2 separate regions of the Homo sapiens genome follow, and region 2 is linked to region 1. Evidence: promoter capture Hi-C in 16 types of primary human blood cells and fetal thymus (Javierre and others, 2016). All regions are on one chromosome and are shown on one strand. The core of a region is centred on a gene start or on the middle of the fragment in contact, and the rest is flanking DNA. Distances in the headings are between cores, read along the strand shown.

Evidence for each region. The method cuts DNA at HindIII sites, captures the fragments that hold promoters and counts their contacts. A CHiCAGO score of 5 or more calls a contact.
Region 2: a fragment that was not itself captured here is called in contact with the fragment with the promoter of ASPN in region 1 in 2 of 17 cell types (megakaryocytes and M1 macrophages); the score reaches 5.3 in megakaryocytes.

What each region holds. Positions count from the first base shown.
Region 1 is chr9:92,480,707-92,486,284 of GRCh38, forward strand. It overlaps ASPN (asporin), which reads right to left and starts at 1,800. Exons shown (of 8, transcript NM_017680.6): 1 at 1,587-1,800. The region is part of intron 5 of CENPP (centromere protein P); the gene reads left to right. The HindIII fragment of the contact is 2,340 bases long and covers 1-2,219 here.
Region 2 is chr9:92,663,335-92,668,828 of GRCh38, forward strand. All of the region lies in intron 1 of IPPK (inositol-pentakisphosphate 2-kinase), which reads right to left. Among named protein-coding and RNA genes, the nearest start is that of IPPK, 4.0 kb to the right of the region's middle. The HindIII fragment of the contact is 6,089 bases long and covers 1-5,421 here.

The DNA of each region.
Region 1 (5,578 bases), core at 550-3,049:
AAAGGCCCGCTTGGCAACTTTTCCCCTGGGTTTAAACATGCCTATCAGTTCACAGGTACCAGTAGCAGATTTCAGCATATAAATGTGATATAACATACTCCATATATTTCACCGAAGGAATCCAAACCAAATTCAGATGTAATCAAGGCATAGTCTTGTAAGCTAACAAATGAGTTAAAAGTCCAACATGCATTTGGAAACTTATTCACAGTACCATTTGTTCATGGATACTGATAAAGATAGCACTTTCCTTAAAAAGTAGTTAATTTTACCTTAGAAGTATAACTAGCATTCTGACAAAGCATTCTAGCTGTTCTTCCTTTTATACTAATTTTGCCCTTCATTAATTTCTCCACATGTCTAGCAATCAAGCTACTGTCTTAAAAAACAAAATCTACTGCCTCTCCATTTTTATGATGTTTCCCACAGTGCCTCAAGACTTGTGCTTGTAAAGTTAATTGTTTTTGTCTCAAACCTCAGATCAGTTATCAGAATATTTGTTTTTAATTGAGTAGTTAGTTGTAACAGAAGACTATATATCCTCTGTTCTTTCCACTACTACACTATACTCCTTAATGCCAAAAAACAAACTAAAAACATCAGGATCCTTTTATGTGTGTGGGCTTGTGCTCGATTTTTCTTTCTTTTTTCATTTCTTTCTTTTAACAGCTTGATTCTTGGATTTAAACAACTTTATTTTTAGGGAAATACAACCCCCTCAGGTTCTTTATGACTCAGTCCCTACACCATGTGGCCACTGTTTCCTGGGTGCCACACCTCTGAATAGATTAACATGAAAGAATGCTGTGCGCTATTTAGATTACTAGGGAGTAGAATATTGAATACATTGCTTAAATTTTTTAATCTAAAATTTAATCAGAAATTTACTTTGGGAGTAGACAAAGGAAATCTTTGAAAGTGTTAAATTCTGACTGTATACATGCTGTGAAAATTTCCTAATCTTTCATATTGAATATAGTGCTAGCTAAACTATTGCTGATAAGTATTCTTTCTTGGAATTGAATAGATTTCCATTTGAACTTTTCAGTGCCATTTCATTATAATAAGGAAGACATTTATCAAGGAAAAAAATGAATATTCAAATGTATAAGTAAAATTGACATTTCAGTAATTCACACATTTTAAATACACATTAGAAAATATTTTAAATATTGAAAAATATATTTACTGTTTCATTTAATATAGCTGTGATATCCCCAAACTTCATGATCATTATTATAGCAATGTTATTTTCCTAGATAAACATACAAGATGTTTATTTAGATGACTTTTAAAATCAATCATGTTAACATTTATGGTAAGGCATAATGACAGGTTTTCACTTAGCTGAAAAAAAAAGTCACATAATTATATTTAAAATACATTCATTATAGGTAAGACATAAAACTAGAATAATTTTAGGTACAAATTTAGGTTTGTATTTAAATGCTGATTTTTAAGAAATTATAGAGATAAACTTTGGACTTTATCCTATTATTTATAAGCATTTATTAATAACATTAATGTCTCCTTAGTATTGACTGTAAAGTATACATCGATACTTGTAAGATAGACATGAAACATACCTGTCAGAAGAGAGTAGTCCTCCTAAAAGTAGAAGTTATCCACCATGTACTACTTATCTATAATGTAAATGTTCTCAGACACTGTGTAAGAAGAAAAGATGAGGAGGTATTACATTTAAAAGAAAAAAAACACCCTTCAACACAGTCCTGGTGTGGCTGCACCCTGGGTGATACTGGAATAAACTGCTCCCACAGATTAGTCCATGTTAGTACTGAGGAGCAAGATTAAAACTTGTTACTGCTCATGTGTTTTCCATCACTGTTTGTATCGTAGCCAAGACTTCTAGCTAAACTCTAGACGTCTACTGGAAGATTCTGAAGAAGAAAAAAAAAGAAAGTTTAATAATGCATGGCAACTGGCCATTGAAAGTGCAGTCGGAGTCATTCAAGAAATACCTAGTTTTAAAAATATTAGATTCTTAAGTGAATGAATATTTGTAAATTACAATTTCAAAAATTACTCAACCTGTATAGACTAATAAAATATTTATCAATCTGAATAAAGGATACCAACATTACTGAAGTATATACCCAAACTTCAGATGTACCTGAGAAAGAACCATACTTTTTTTTTCTTCTAATGACTGTAGCTATTGCATTATGCATACTTCTCCAGACTTTTTTTTTTTTTTAAGCTTTTAGCACTGCTATAGCATGTCAGGGAAACTATGGATGAGGCTCCATGAACTGCTCCCTGGACTCAACATATGTGATATAACACAGACACACATGCATGTCCAAGTAACACCCTCTTAGGATGCATACAACTTTCCCTTTTCAAGAGAATATTAGCTATGGCCTCACTGACATTTAGGGAGACTTAGAGCAGGGAAGATGCTATTTCCTGAAAATAAATCATTATTTGTACCCCCTTTCCACTCATCCCCAAGAGACTGCCCAATTCTACATCAACTAAGACCTTCAAGAGAGGACAGTTTTCTTTTTTTTTTTTTTGAGACGGAGTCTCACTCTGTCACCCAGGCTGGAGTGCGGTGGCGCAATCTTGGCTTACTGCAAGCTCTGCCTCCCAGGTTCACGCCATTCTCCTGCCTCAGCCTCCCGAGTAGCTGGGACTGCAGGCGCCCGCCACCACGCCTGGCTAATTTTTTGGTTTTTTAATAGAGACAGTGTTTCATTGTGTTAGCCAGGATGGTCTCGATCTCCTGACCTCGTGATCTGCCCGCCTCGGCCTCCCAAAGTGCTGGGATTACAGGCATGAGCCACCATGGCCGGCCTGAGAGGACAGTTTTCTAACCCTAGTGGCAAGGACTTACTGTTGTAAGTGACCCCAATGGTTCTTCCCAACTGTTGTATAGATTTGGAGGCCAGCAAAGAGCTTTTCCAGTGGGTTAGAAGACCTGTTCTCTACTGTCATCAAGAGTCTGACCATCGTTTGTTCCCTCTCTCCAGAGAAATGGCACACATTGTGTTAAGCAAGGCAGCTACAGTCCTAAAGAATACATGTGCCTCAGATGTGCATAGCAGCTGGCTATGTGTTCATCCTCCCCTCACTTAAATAAAGTACTCCTCCTTGGACCTCTAGGCTGACAGTTCCAGGCAGCTCGGTAGTCCCATTAGTGGCCCTCTGTAACTCAGGCCCCATCCTAGCCCTGCAGCACCTTAGGGAATGACGGCCCTCCTGTTTGGTTTAGAATGCTCATATTCTCATTTATTCAAGTATATTTCAGTTGCAAATGTATCTGTTAACTGGATGAATTGGGAACATAATGAAAATATGAACTGGATTTTTAAAATCTTTGTATCCAGAGCATCTAGTGTTTGCCTAAATTCCTTCAGAACACAGTCATAAACAGGAAGCCCTTGGGTCAAATTCAGTTTGTCCTGCACAATGTTTTGTTTCTGAACTGTTTATTGAAGTGTATGTTACCAAAAAAAAACATATCATAATGGTACAACTCAATTAATTTTTACAAAATGACCCCAATCAAGAAATCCCAGCCTCACACTCCATTCTCATACATCCAGAATCCCTCCTCTTACTCCTCAAGTCACAGCCTGAGTTCAGCACCATAGGTTATTTCCTGAACTTTATATAAATGGAATCATACTGTGCATTCTCTTTTGCATCTGGCTTTTTTCATTCAGTGACATGCTTTTGAGATCCATTCGTGTCATTGTGATACACAGTAGTTCATTCTTGTCACTGTATAGTATTCTCATACATGAATAAGCCACAAATTGTTTATATATTCAACTAGATTAATTACCTTTTGGAGAGGTACTATGAACGTTCCTCAGTCTGTCATTTGGGGGTCATGTGTATGTATTTTTGTTAGGTGAAATTGCTGTATTTAAAAATAAGATTTCAACTTCTCTTTAAAAATTAGGCTTTCCCAGTCTGTGATTTCTGGTTTTGCATGGCAACTGTTGTCTCTGGGACTTGTGTTTTTCTCTTCTATACTCACAGGATGTTGTCCACGTCACCCACCCAAGGCACTCCTCAGTCGAGTTGCCTGCATGGCCTTTCTGGGTGCAGTTTTGCCTCCCATATCTAGAGAGTTGAGAGGCAGTTCCTGTAAGATTGTGTTTCTAAAGATATGTTACAGCTACTTTTCCTTCTCCCCACTGTGAGACTTAAGCTAGTCTTCCTCTGATATTTTGCTTCGATCTTTGGTCAGAGGGCCTAGGGAAAGAAATAGGCCCTGGAATAAGATGCTGGGGTTAGGGGTAGTATATTTGGCTTATTCACTCTGTTCTGCAGATAATGTGGTAAAGGTGCAGGCCTCAGGCACAACCCTCCACCATCTTGGGGCTGTGACATGGAAAGCTTTGCCTCACATTTGCCAGAGATGGTGCAGCAGGCACGAACGTGCCATCTGGGAAGAAACTGGAGTTTATCTCCACCCTTTTCCAGGTTATCATTCCAAATGAAACAGTGTACCTCTTCTTCCCTCAAGTATTGTGAAGAGAAAAATCTTCCATTTTTGTTTCCTAAAGGGGTCCTATGGAGGGGACCTAGTTCTTTTCTCCATGCTTTTTAAATTGTTTTATTTTTGCCTCATTGAGCCTTAGTCTAAATATTGAAGAACTAGTTGCATTATAACAGTATATTTAGGAATCACAAGTAATTTACATGTTGCAAACACAAAGATAAATTACAAAATTGAAAAAGTAATATTCTCAGTACTGACAGTTTATGAATAAAAATATTGATTGCCATAAAAGGAACTTTAATGCAAATTTATTTTCCTTTGGCCTTATATATGCTAACCATCGTGAAAATAAAAATAAATTGCCTAATCTAAGCTCTCGTATGATTTCTCACACCCTTTCTAGAACTTCTCCTGGTCTAGACATGGACAACAGTGGTCAAAGTCCAAACACAAATAAGAACAGGGGAGGACCTTGGAAACTGTCTCATGCAAATAAAAGATTGATTGATTGACAGAGTCTCACTCTGTCACCCATGCTGGAGTGCAGTGGTACAATCATACCTCAAACTCCTGGGCTAAAGCAATCCTCCCATCTCGGCCCCCCAAAGTGCTGAGATTACAGGTGGGAACCACCTGCACACAGCCCAAATGAAAAGGTTTGATAGGTGAGGCAGGAGCTATAGGAGCAGCATGTGTCAGGAGTATATTGTGGGGCACACACACACCTGCCAAAAAAGTAGGCAGTTTGAATTTTCTGATGTTCTTTTGCCAGTCTGTGGTGTCCTTCACATTCTAAATGAATTGGAATAGATTGTACAATGTTCTTTTATAGTAGTAGCTACAAGAAAGGCCGTCCACCAATCCATTCATTCAACAAATAGTGTAAGTGCTATGGAGAGAAGCAGGATAGGGGTGGGGGTGTCAAGGGTGCCCTCCCTGTCAGGTGACAGTCACAAGACCTGAGGGCTGTGAGGGAGTTAGCCGTGCCATGCAAACACCCACTTTAAGAATGTTCTAGGCCACTGAATTCTAGGATGTAAATATGCATAACATAGGGTTTTTTGTATAGTAGATGCTTAAAAAAGCTTCTGTGAAGGG
Region 2 (5,494 bases), core at 1,127-3,626, 180 kb after region 1:
ATAGGCTGCCCCACACAGCCTGGGCATGGGGCAGGCTCTACCATCTAGGTGTGTTCATATGGCAACAACATCACCTAACAATGCAGCTCTCAAAATGCATCCCTGGTGTTAAGCGATGCTTGACAATAAATAGAAAAAGACTAGAAGAAAGTGCACCAAAGTGTTAACAAAACTTGTTCTCTTCATGGAGAAATATTGGATGTTTTTCACTTCCTTCCTTCTGATATTCTATATTTTCAGAGAGAAGAAGCAACAATTGGTGTTAAATAAAAATAGAAGGCCACAAAAACCCCAATACATTAAAAGGGACACCTGCCAATGGGAAGCCTGAGGGGGCACCTTATGGGTGGAATTAAAGCTACTAACTACAAGAGCCTTTCAGGACAGATGAGGAGAGACTTTCCCGCCACCCACAGAGGACTCACTCTGGAGGGGTATCACCCACAAAATCAGCTGTTCCAGAGATCTGTCAAAAGACAAGGACCAAGGTCAAGTCTTCCATCAGGCTGAGGAGATAACCTGAAGCTGAGATCAGACAACTTTCATGGGAAGGGAAGACAGAAAAAGACAACAGCAGCAGGGGTCACCCCTCAGGATGCCTTCTAGAAGCAATGCTCAGCTCCAGCTTCTTCCGAATTGTGAAGATGACTCCCAGGCAGGGGCCATGGGGGATCCCAAATGTCCAGTCTCAAGAGGCTGCCCTCCCTGTAGACCCTCCTTAGCTTACCCCCGCAGCTCCAGCTCCAGCTCTGTCCCAGCCAGAGAAGGCTGCCCGGGGTCTGTCAGTCACCAGGGGCAGGAGGTGCCGAAGTCCACCTCTGCAACCCAGAAAGGGATGTCCAGGATGCGTAGGACCGTGGAGGGAACAAGAAGCAGGGCTTACGGTACTGGGCTCCAACAGGAAGCGCTCCCAAGGGTGAGCTTCGCTTCACTGGGAATGTATGGCCTCAGATAGAAATACAAAGCACATTTGACACCGGATGAAAAGTGACATCACCAAGATGCCTGTGGAGGATGGGAGCCCAGTACTCTGCAGGCAAGAGCAGGGAGGCCAGACTGGAGACAGCCTGGGGTCAGGGCGCAGTAAGTGCTGGCCCCTTGTCCAACCTGTATGGGGCATGTCCTCAAGCCTCGGCAACTCCGTCCTGACCTCATGGTGTCCTCTGCAGGACTGAAGCAGGCACAGGTGTGGGCCATGGGGGAGGTCACACACCCACACAACTCTCAGAACATGGGGAGGCCTGTGGGGATAGGCACACCTCGTGCATGGGGCTGACCCCTATAGGCATGGAAAGCCTCACTGCCTGTAAAGGGGAAGCAGGGCTGCCTAGAGGCCCACAGTGAGGGCCACAGGGAACTGTGAGCAAGTCCGGGCCCTCAGATCTCCCAACCGCTTGGCAACAAGGCAGGAGTGGCCGGGCCCTAGGCACAGCCTTGCTCTCTGCAGACACAGTAATGATGCTTTTCTCACCCTCCTGGATCGCAGCTCTCAGAAGACACAGGAAGTCACTGGGGAGCTTTGCTCTGACTGAATTCTGATGCAGAAGGAGGCTCAGTCAGGCAGAAGAAAAGTGGCTGTGTGACCTCAGAAGGTGTAAAAGTAGGAGGTGAGCCAAGGCCAAACCAACAAACCCCCGTGCACGAGAGGCACTGTCACAGGCTGCAGTCACCAAACAGCAGACCTCATCACGCAACTGCAGATACAAAGAAAGGAATAAACAAAGAGCGAGCCACAAGCACAGCTCTCCAATGAGCTCAAATGAGACAAGAAGGAACATCACCAGGAAAGAAGCCACATCAGCTGCGTCAGCCTAGAGCGCCACTAAAAATCCCAAATGCAGAATACATCACTAGTTTAAACAAAATGCTAGCAGTAACAGAAAGCTAAGACTATTTCAACTAGGTCCAGCTAAAAATTGTAAAAGGGAGCGACCAAGGGCTTGGGCACATGTTATACAGTCAGAAAAAAACAGAGAACATAAACGTATGTGCTTTCAGCATCCACAGTAGGAAGTATGGCCCAGTTAACAGTCCTGCAGGACTGCACAATGGCTTTCCACTTAACCTGTTCTAAGTGATTCTGTAATGGATATCTTTGTGTATAAGATCTTTATTTACGTTTCTAATTATCTCCTTAGAACGGACTACTAGAACAGAAATTAGTAAATCAAAGAGTATAAACTTTTTAAAAATTAATCTTTTTTCCTGAGTATCATACATATCCATTGTAGGAAATTCAGAAAATATTTAAAAAACAAAAAAAAGTAAAAGTGATTCGTGATACTATCAGTTACAGCCACTTAGAACATTTTCATCTATTTTCTTCTAATCATTTTGTAATTATAACCACATCATGCATCTTCTTTTGTAACCTGCTTTTTCTACGTAACTGTAAACACATCCTCATATAAAGGACTTAATTCATCCACTACAAAATAATCATTTAAATTATTAAAATATACAAAATCATGCTGTATGGCAAAAAAAATACATATATATATGATCTATGAACCAGAAATCTTAAAACACAAGATGAGAAGAGAAACAGTAGAAGGGCACCTGACCGCTTGAGCTTCACACCTTCAATGCCCAGACAAATATCCCAAGCACTAAACAGGTACCAAAGGGACACCAAAACTCCCCAGGCAACAAAACAATTTGCAGAAATGATCTGAAGCTCTCAGACTCTCAGAAAGGTCACGAAACTGGAACAACTGGAAGTGAGCAGCTTTGTCCACACATGTGATCAATTTAGTTGGCTGGTAAGCCAACTAAATGGCAAAGTCTTTCCTGTCACCTCTGTCAGTAAGAAGGAAAACATCATGACAGCTTAGTGTCATGACAGGAGTGGGCCACCTTCTGCCCCTGCTCCCCAAGGCTGAGGTGGTCCGGAAGGGGCTCAGTGCCCCAGACAAGTGCATGATCCAGATCTGAAGACACCTAGGAGATGGAATGACAAACCAAACCTAAAGTGACCTTCATAGGACAGGACACTGAGCCAAAACCAACAAGCTGAAGGCGAAGGAGGCAGGCGCAGGCGTCACACAGGAGAGAAATCCTGCGGCAGTGCATAAAGGGGCAACCTGTGGACTTCACTAACCTGAGATGTGGCCACTGGCCCAAGTACTGCACCTTCAGGCTGCAGCGAGGAAACTGTGCCCAGATGGGAAGTTCCCTCATCAAGGAGCCCCCACAGGGTCAGTGTCTGGAGCTCCAGACACACACCAGGGAACATGCCAGGCTGCCGAGAGCCTCTCAAGCATGCCACAGGGTCCACACCACATGAGGCAGAGAACACCATGGTTACCTGTGCCTGGGAAAGTTCAGGTGCACAACCATCCCAAACAGAGGCAGAATGCAAACTGACAGGCAAAATGAGAATCATCCTGGGCCGTCTCTGAGTGGAAGGGCCTTGGGGAAGCTGACCACCTTCTGTCAGGAACACCTTTAAACGCCTCTCTATGGCTGGCCTGCTATTTACCTTCCTGCCCACCCTGGGCACAACCTCCCACCCTCCTGTAGCCCACACCTAGTTCCTCCATCCCCAGGCCTCATTTCCTACAAGTCCTGCGCTGCACAGAAGGCTCTCTCTCATCCCATGTTTGCATACTGCAGGAAGAACATCACTGTGCTCCTTCTAGTGCTGACAGCCAATGACCATGCAGATCTCCTTACCTAGGCCCTCGGCTCCTGCAGGACGAGCTCAGGCTGGCTGAAGGCGCATCATGTTCTCATGGTAGAGGGGATGGGGGTCAGCACAGGACTCATTAGGGACCTTTCAATTCTGAGAGAAGCTGATGTCCTCTCAGAGAAAGCAACCCTCTCCTTACCTGGAAAAACTTGGCAAAGGCCTCCCTCTCTCTTGGACTGAATGAGGTGGATCTAAGGAGTACAGTAGCAGGGTCCACCTGCTCCCACACCCGGCTGGAAGGAGGCTGGGCGCATGCTCAGCATCCACAAGACCACGGACTCCTCCTATTCTACCTCACCCATCTCTTATCCCACTGACACACACCCTCTGCTCGAACTCAACAGGTCCTAAAAAGCTGCCTTCTGGGAATTGCTCTCTCTCCTCCTCGGTCCACAGCCTGAGCAAACAGGCCACAGGGCAGAGCTGGTGGGCTAGGCTTGGTTCAGGTTACCACATCAGGCACAGGCTCCATCTGACCTTAACTTGATGGGAAACATTTTCTCATGAGACTATGTGCAGTGATAATCTTCAATTTCAAATGATGAGCTAAAAACAACAACCAAGCAGGAATGAGCACAGTAAAGCAAGTTTAGATTTAAAATAAAAAATGAGGCTGAGTACAGTGGCTCACACCTGTAATCCCAGCACTCTGGGAGGCTGAGGCGGGCGGGTCATTTGAGGTCAGGAGTTTGAAACCAGTCTGGCTAACGTGGTGAAATACAAAAAAATTAGCCAGGCATGGTGGCAGGCACCTGTAATTCCAGCTACTTGGGAGGCTGAGGCAGGAGAATTGCTTGAACCCAGGAGGCAGAGGTTGCAGTGAACCAAGATTGCGCCACTGCAGTCCAGCCTGGGAGACAGAGCAAGACTCCGTCTCAAAAAAAAAGAATGAATAGCATAGGTCTAGAACAGCCTGGTGGCTGTAGGTAAATTTGAAAAGGTGAAAGAAAAAATAAACAATCAACCTGGCGTGGTGGCTCACGCCTGTAATCCCAGCACTTTGGGAGGCTGAGGTGGGTGTCACTTGAGGTTAGGAGTTGGAGACCAGCCTGGTCAACACGGTGAAACCTCATCTCTACTAAAAATACAAAAATTAGCTGGGCACGGTAGCGCATGCCTGTGATCCCAGCTACTCGGGAGGCTGAGGCAGGAAAATCGCTTGAACCTGGGAGGCGGAGGTTGCAGTGAGCCGAGATCGCGCCACTGCACTCCAGCCTGGGCAACAGAGTGAGACCCCGTTTCTAAATAAATAAATAAATAAAAATAAACAATCATTACAATCAGAGCTGTGCAACAGGGTAGGGCCAGGCTGCCCTGGAGATGCCTACTCAGGGAAGGGGGTGGACACATACTTGTCTGGAACGTGCAGAGAGATCCAAGTGCCAGAGGCAACTGCGTCAAAGCCTCTGCTCTTTCAACATGGGTGTCCTTTTGCTCCAAGCCTGAAACTTGCTGCTTCATCTGCCACTACTTTTGAAATTTAATGTATCAGCCCTCACTAAAGAAAAGTCTTAGGTTTACCTAAAATGCAGAGATACATCTAATCTTACCAAGGAATTGGAAGATTAGTATTTGTTTTGGGAAAGGATTCAGGGGATCAGCACAGTAACCCAACAACAAAAGGACTCACGCAGAAACATCCCTCACTTTGCCAATAGTGGACTACACAAGAGAAGGACAGCTTTAGGTTAGCCTGGTCCATTATTAATTCACCTAAAGATCTTGAGCAAAGCTTGTAGTCTCTGTTCTTTAGTTCCCTGTGCTAATGAGCAACAAAATCCAAAGGCACAACCTAGGGGCTAC